Linked DNA regions of Homo sapiens: region 2 is linked to region 1. Evidence: promoter capture Hi-C in 16 types of primary human blood cells and fetal thymus (Javierre and others, 2016). All regions are on one chromosome and are shown on one strand. The core of a region is centred on a gene start or on the middle of the fragment in contact, and the rest is flanking DNA. Distances in the headings are between cores, read along the strand shown.

What was found. Contacts are between HindIII fragments. The CHiCAGO score rates a contact against its expected background, and 5 or more counts as called.
Region 2: a fragment that was not itself captured here is called in contact with the fragment with the promoter of BMP4 in region 1 in 1 of 17 cell types (endothelial precursors); the score reaches 6.1 in endothelial precursors.

Annotation. Positions count from the first base shown.
Region 1 is chr14:53,955,344-53,958,617 of GRCh38, reverse strand. BMP4 (bone morphogenetic protein 4) reads left to right here and starts at 1,793. Exons shown (of 4, transcript NM_001202.6): 1 at 1,793-2,068. It overlaps LOC124903317, which reads right to left. Exons shown (of 2, transcript XM_047432035.1): 1 at 2,290-3,274. The coding sequence starts at 2,717. RefSeq lists silencers at 1,831-1,910, 2,560-2,669 and promoters at 625-1,967, 1-1,967, 2,895-3,274. The HindIII fragment of the contact is 12,206 bases long and covers 1-3,274 here.
Region 2 is chr14:53,429,773-53,432,795 of GRCh38, reverse strand. All of the region lies in intron 2 of LOC105370504 (a long non-coding RNA gene), which reads right to left. Among named protein-coding and RNA genes, the nearest start is that of DDHD1-DT, 280 kb to the right of the region's middle. The HindIII fragment of the contact is 226 bases long and covers 1,602-1,827 here.

The sequences.
Region 1 (3,274 bases), core at 544-3,043:
GTGGTGTTATTGCCCTGCCCTGTTTTAATCAGTGGTTCTTAGAGAAAGTGAACTCAGGAGTGACTTAAAATGAAGGAAGACGGACTTTGGCTAAAATTACAATTAAATAATCAAATCATTTTCAAATATAAAGGGAGCATGCAGATGATCTGGCCCAATCCTTTCATTCTGCAGATGAGAAAACTGAGACTCATAGGAATGAAAAGACTTGCCCAAAGCCATACAGCTTGTTTCTGTTGTTTGGTGCATTAGGCCAAAAGACCTAGGCCTAATAGATGGAAAAGATGGCAGGATGTCTTGGCCTTGCTCTGACAGTTGCTTCTCTGATCTCAGATATTTCCCACCCTTTGTAATCTGTGTTCCACACAGGAAGTAGTTCTTGTTTTTTAAATATCGAAGGTGTATAAACGTAAAGTTTTTATAGATGAGCCACCCAGGGCCAATATCTGTTTAAGTAAAGACCTAAATGCTTTGCAGAGACAGTAAAGTGTCATGTCTGTCCCAGGGAAAGAAATCCAGGACAGGAAATGCTCAGTCTTCCAGCACTCCTCTGGCTACCTGGAGCTCAGGCTATGAGCCTCAACCCCTCCCTGAAGCATTAGCTCTGGAGCAGAGGCTGTGATTTACTTCAGAGATCTGGGCAAGTCCCTTTAACCTGGTAGTCCTGCCTTTCCTTGTTTGTAAAACAGAGAGATGAGGCTGATAGCTCCCTCACAGCTCCATCAGAGGCAGTGTGTGAAATTAGTTCCTGTTTGGGAAGGTTTAAAAGCCACCACATTCCACCTCCCTGCTAATATGATTACTAAAATGTTTTTATATGAAAGGGCCAATTCCTCATCTCCCCTCTTCCTTTAAAAACAGACCAAGGGGCATCTTTTCTTGTCTCCCTGTGGCCTAAAAGGTTACTGCTTCTGTGGTTATCTCCTTGGAAAGACAGAGTGTCAGGACTCTTAGGTACACCAAAAATGAACAAAAAAATCAACAACAACCATAACACCAACAAAAATAACTGCTGTGTCGGTTCTTAAGACGGCTTCTGAGCTAGAAACAGATTTTTCTAACTGTAAAAAACGTGGCCCCAGCCTGTCTGCAGGCCACCTCTGTCTTTAGGCCTTGGGGGGAGGAGGGAAGTGAGCTCATTTACTGGGGTCTACCTCAGGGTCATCACCAAGGTGTTCTACAAAACGCACTTTAAGAATGTTTTGGAAGGAAATTCACCTTTTAACAGCCCAAGAGGTATCTCTCTCTGGCACACAGTTCTGCACACAGCCTGTTTCTCAACGTTTGGAAATCTTTTAACAGTTTATGGAAGGCCACCTTTTAAACCGATCCAACAGCTCCTTTCTCCATAACCTGATTTTAGAGGTGTTTCATTATCTCTAATTACTCAGGGTAAATGGTGATTACTCAGTGTTTTAATCATCAGTTTGGGCAGCAGTTACACTAAACTCAGGGAAGCCCAGACTCCCATGGGTATTTTTGGAAGGTACGGCGACTAGTCGGTGCATGCTTTCTAGTACCTCCGCACGTGGTCCCCAGGTGAGCCCCAGCCGCTTCCCAGAGCTGGAGGCAGCGGCGTCCCAGCTCCGACGGCAGCTGCGGACTCGGGCGCTGCCTGGGCTTCCGGGACCCGGGCCTGCTAGGCGAGGTCGGGCGGCTGGAGGGGAGGATGTGGGCGGGGCTCCCATCCCCAGAAAGGGAGGCGAGCGAGGGAGGAGGGAAGGAGGGAGGGGCCGCCGGGGAAGAGGAGGAGGAAGGAAAGAAAGAAAGCGAGGGAGGGAAAGAGGAGGAAGGAAGATGCGAGAAGGCAGAGGAGGAGGGAGGGAGGGAAGGAGCGCGGAGCCCGGCCCGGAAGCTAGGTGAGTGTGGCATCCGAGCTGAGGGACGCGAGCCTGAGACGCCGCTGCTGCTCCGGCTGAGTATCTAGCTTGTCTCCCCGATGGGATTCCCGTCCAAGCTATCTCGAGCCTGCAGCGCCACAGTCCCCGGCCCTCGCCCAGGTTCACTGCAACCGTTCAGAGGTCCCCAGGAGCTGCTGCTGGCGAGCCCGCTACTGCAGGGACCTATGGTGAGCAAGGCTACCTGGTGAGGGGAGACAGGCAGAGGGGGTCTAGGAGCCTCCTTGGGGGGAAGAAGCTGGTCACAGGCTGTGACCGAGGCAAAAGGTGGCCTAATTATTTTCCAATAGTGGTGCTGGAGGTGGGGATGCTGGCGCTGAAAGACCTTTAAATATCGGCTACTGCCCCTGCCCAGGCCTTCTCTGTCCAGCAGTCCCTGGGAGATTCTCACCTTTGGGAAGTGCGGGGCAGGAGAGCAGAAACAAGAGAAGCCCTTGGTAGGGGGGTCGTTGGGAAAAACTGTGGGGTCTTGGGCTGAACGCGTTGCCCACGGGCTGGAGGTTGCGATCCCCGGACGGAAAGCGCGGGAGGAGGAAGGAGAGAACCGGCTCTGAGGTCCAGAGAGAGTGAGGGGGCAGAGCGACGGCGAGATGGGGAGAGAACACCTAGCTGGAGCAGGTTCTGCGGTAGAGAGCGCAGTCCTGCTGGCCTCTGGAGAGTGCGCGCCGCTCCGGAGGCTGCGTCGAGGGGAGTGTCACCCAATCTGGCCCCCAGCTGGCGGGGCGCCCTGAGAGCTTGCGAACTGCAGTTGCAGGACGCGCCTTCTCCACGAGCTATTTTCGTCGACTTGCGGAACCCAAGGAACCTCGCCTCTATCATTTCACGGTGTAGGGTCCCTAGAGACGACAGCCAAGATCCCAGGGGCTCCCAGGACGCTTGTTCCTGCGGTGTCGTGTCCTATGGGGAGTTCCTGGCGGGACGAAAGGCGGACGCGCGGCTCTTCCTGGCCCTCCAGGCCCGGAACCGACGGGAAAGGTTCCCGTGATTCCCGAGTCCCTGCAGGCTTCTTCCAGCGGGAGTTGGTCCGGGGGCCTTAGAGGCCTCCAAGCACTGCTTTGGAGGATGGTTTCCAAGGATCGCGGTTTGTGAGTTGAAGGCTTTGTGAGAGGTTAAACCCCCAAAAGATACATACTTGGTAAACTGAGGCTACCTGTAAACACATTTCGGCATTAGGAGAAGATTCGAGTAGGGAAGTGAAGGACAACCACCCCGAGTTACATTCCTTTCCCCCAATAAAAAGCTCTGGGGATGAAAGTTCTTTTGGCTTTTATCTTTTCGATTTAAAAATTTGAGAAGAAAAATGTGACTAGAGATGAATCCTGGTGAATCCGAAATTGAAACACAACTCCCCCTTCCCCTTCCTATCCTCTCGGTTT
Region 2 (3,023 bases), core at 465-2,964, 530 kb after region 1:
ATAAAGCCAAGCTCCAGATTCCTTGCTCTTAATCCCTATACTGACACTGCCTCCCTACTTGGTGTTTGGTAGAAATAGAAATGATTCACATTAAGATCAACAGTGACACCTGAACAGGCTATACACTTTGGACGCCTTTCTCCATAAGGCACTCTCCATGTGACTGACATCACTTCTGACTGCTTCAAATGTCCCTTATGTGGATGACCTGCAACTTACTCCTAAAACCTTCTTCACTGTCTCTCCCTGGCTCCCTGCCTCACGCACCACCCCCCACCACCCTCACCACCAACCTCCAGACAGCAGCCAAGGTGTTCTCTGTCAATGGTGTCACCTAGTGGTCAGAAGGTAGAACTCCTTTATTTGACTTCCCTTTTCTACACCCTATTCTTTTATTCCTCTTCAAGGACTTTTTGGCAGAATATATCTACCTCTATTAAGTCATCACTCAGGGTTCATTCAATTCTCCCTTAACCTTTTTCACTTACATACACTCATCTCCTTTAACTCCCTTTCTCCTCAATCCTCTCTCTTTGAAGGAGGATCTCTCTCCCTTCATCATTTATTTCACTAGCCAAAATGTTCACCCAATCATCAGAGAATAGTGAGCTCTGAAATCAGACAGAACTGAATTTTAATTCCAGAGCCAATGCATTAATTGTGAGATGTTGAGCAAATTGTATGGCCTTTCTAAATGTCAGTTTTCAAATCCATAAAATGGAGATAAATTTGCTACTTCACAGAGTTCTTAGAGGAATGAGATGACTTAAGAAAAGCCTTATCTAATTGCACATAATCAGTATTTAATGACTATCACTCATCTCCACACCATCATGAGTAATGCATAAAATAATCATGCTGCTGTATCAAGAAAAAGGAAAGCCATATTCTTGGGGATTAAATTTGTTCTACTTAAGAACCAGTGTCTATAATACTTAAAATCTTTTCAGTAATTTCTCATCAAAACTTCCACAGGGGTCCATGTACTTGCTGGTTTTATCCTTGTTATAAATAGTATTTCTTCTTCATGATAGATAAATCAAATATTTATAAGATAGTCTGGGTATGTAATGTTAAATCAAGCTTAGCCTAAAGCTAAACCTCCTTACATATTTTAAGTTCGGCCTAAAGGTTTTGCCGTACATTGTGAACTATAGTAAGTGGAAGTGTAAACCAACTGTAGCCTACATTTGTGCCAATCACCAAGTTTTGGCCAATCAACTGTAGACAACTGTTTCAACGGTGTTCAAATAAGGCAAATGCCAAGCTGTAACCAATTTGGCTATTTCTGTACCTCACTTCCATTTTCTGTACGTCACTTTCCCTTTTCTGTATGTCACTTTCCCTTTTCTGTCCATAAATCTTCTTCCCCTACATAGCTGCGCTGGAGTCTCAGAGCCTGCTCTGGCTCGGGAGGCTGCCTGATTTGCGAATTGCTCATTCCTCAATTAAACTCCTTTAAATTTAATTATGCTGAAGTTTTTCTTTTATGAATGACCATCATTTACAAACATTACTTCTATGCAAAAGTGCATTCTAAATTCCAAAGAGCCATCAATTAGGAATTTATTCTAGTTTTGGTTTTAAAATTATGAAAAGCTTTAAACTAAGCAAACCCAAAAGTAAAGAGTACGTTTTGCTTTTTTTCTAAGGGAGGTCAGGACTTCTAAATGGGTCAGCTCACAAAATAAAGTGGAATGTGTGCTGATACATTGGAGAAAAATGTGAAAATTCAACCTGCCCTAAGAAGCACCGATTATCCTCTTCAAGCATAGTTTGTTATCTTAGCTACACATGTGACACAAAACAAATCCAGCCAAAGAAGCTTATGAACTAGCATTTGACAATATATGCAGATTACTGGTTTATGTTATTTATCAAAATACAATATATCAAAGATAATGCAATAAAGTATCATACTGGAACAAATGGACACCCATATACAAAAGACTGAATCTTGATTCATACTTCATACCATATGTATATAAATATTCACCTAATATCAACCATAGACTTCAATGTAAAAACCAATCTATAAACTTCTAAAAGAAAATACAGGAAAAAATCGTGACCTTGGGTTAGGCAATGATTTCTAAGACACGACACAAAAAGCGTGATACACAAAAGAAAAAGCTGAAACTGAATTTTATCAAAATTTAAAACTTTTGTTCATCAGACACTGTAAAGAAAATGAAAGAACCATCCACAGACTGGAAAAAAATATTTCCAAAACACATATCTGAAAGAGAGCTTAAATCAAAAATATAGGAATTCTCAAAATTTAATAAAAGAATATAAAAATGGGCAAAAGATTTAAACACTTTACCAAATGAGATATAAAAATGTCAAATAAGGCCGGGCACGGTGGCTCATGCCTGTAATCCCAGCACTTTGGGAGGCCGAGGCGGGAGGATCACGAGGTCAGGAGATCGAGACCATCCTGGCTAACACAGTGAAACCCCGTCTCTACTAAAAAAACACAAAAAAATTAGCCGGGCGTGGTGGCGGGCGCCTGTAGTCCCAGCTACGCGGGAGGCTGAGGCAGGAGAATGGCGTGAACCCGGGAGGCGGAGCTTGCAGTGAGCCGAGATCGCGCCACTGCACTCCAGCCTGGGCGACAGAGCGAGACTCCGTCTCAAAAAAAAAAAAAAAAAAAAAAAAAAATGTCAAATAAGCACATTAAAAGATGTTAAACATCATTAGTCGTTGGGTAAATGCAAATTAAAACCATGATGAGATACCAATATGTATCTATTAGATTGGCAAGAAACAAAGATGAAAATATCAAGTGCTGACATAGGTGCTACGCAATTAGAATTTTACACGTTGCTCCTAGAAATGAAAAATGATTTAGCCACTTTGGAAAATGATTTAGAAGTTTCTTTTTTTTTTAATTATACTTTAAGTTCTAGGGTACATGTGGACAACGGGCAGGTTTGATACCTAGGCATGCATGTGCCAAGTTGGTTTGCTGCACCCATCAACACATCACTTACATTAGGTATTTCTCCTAATGCTATCCC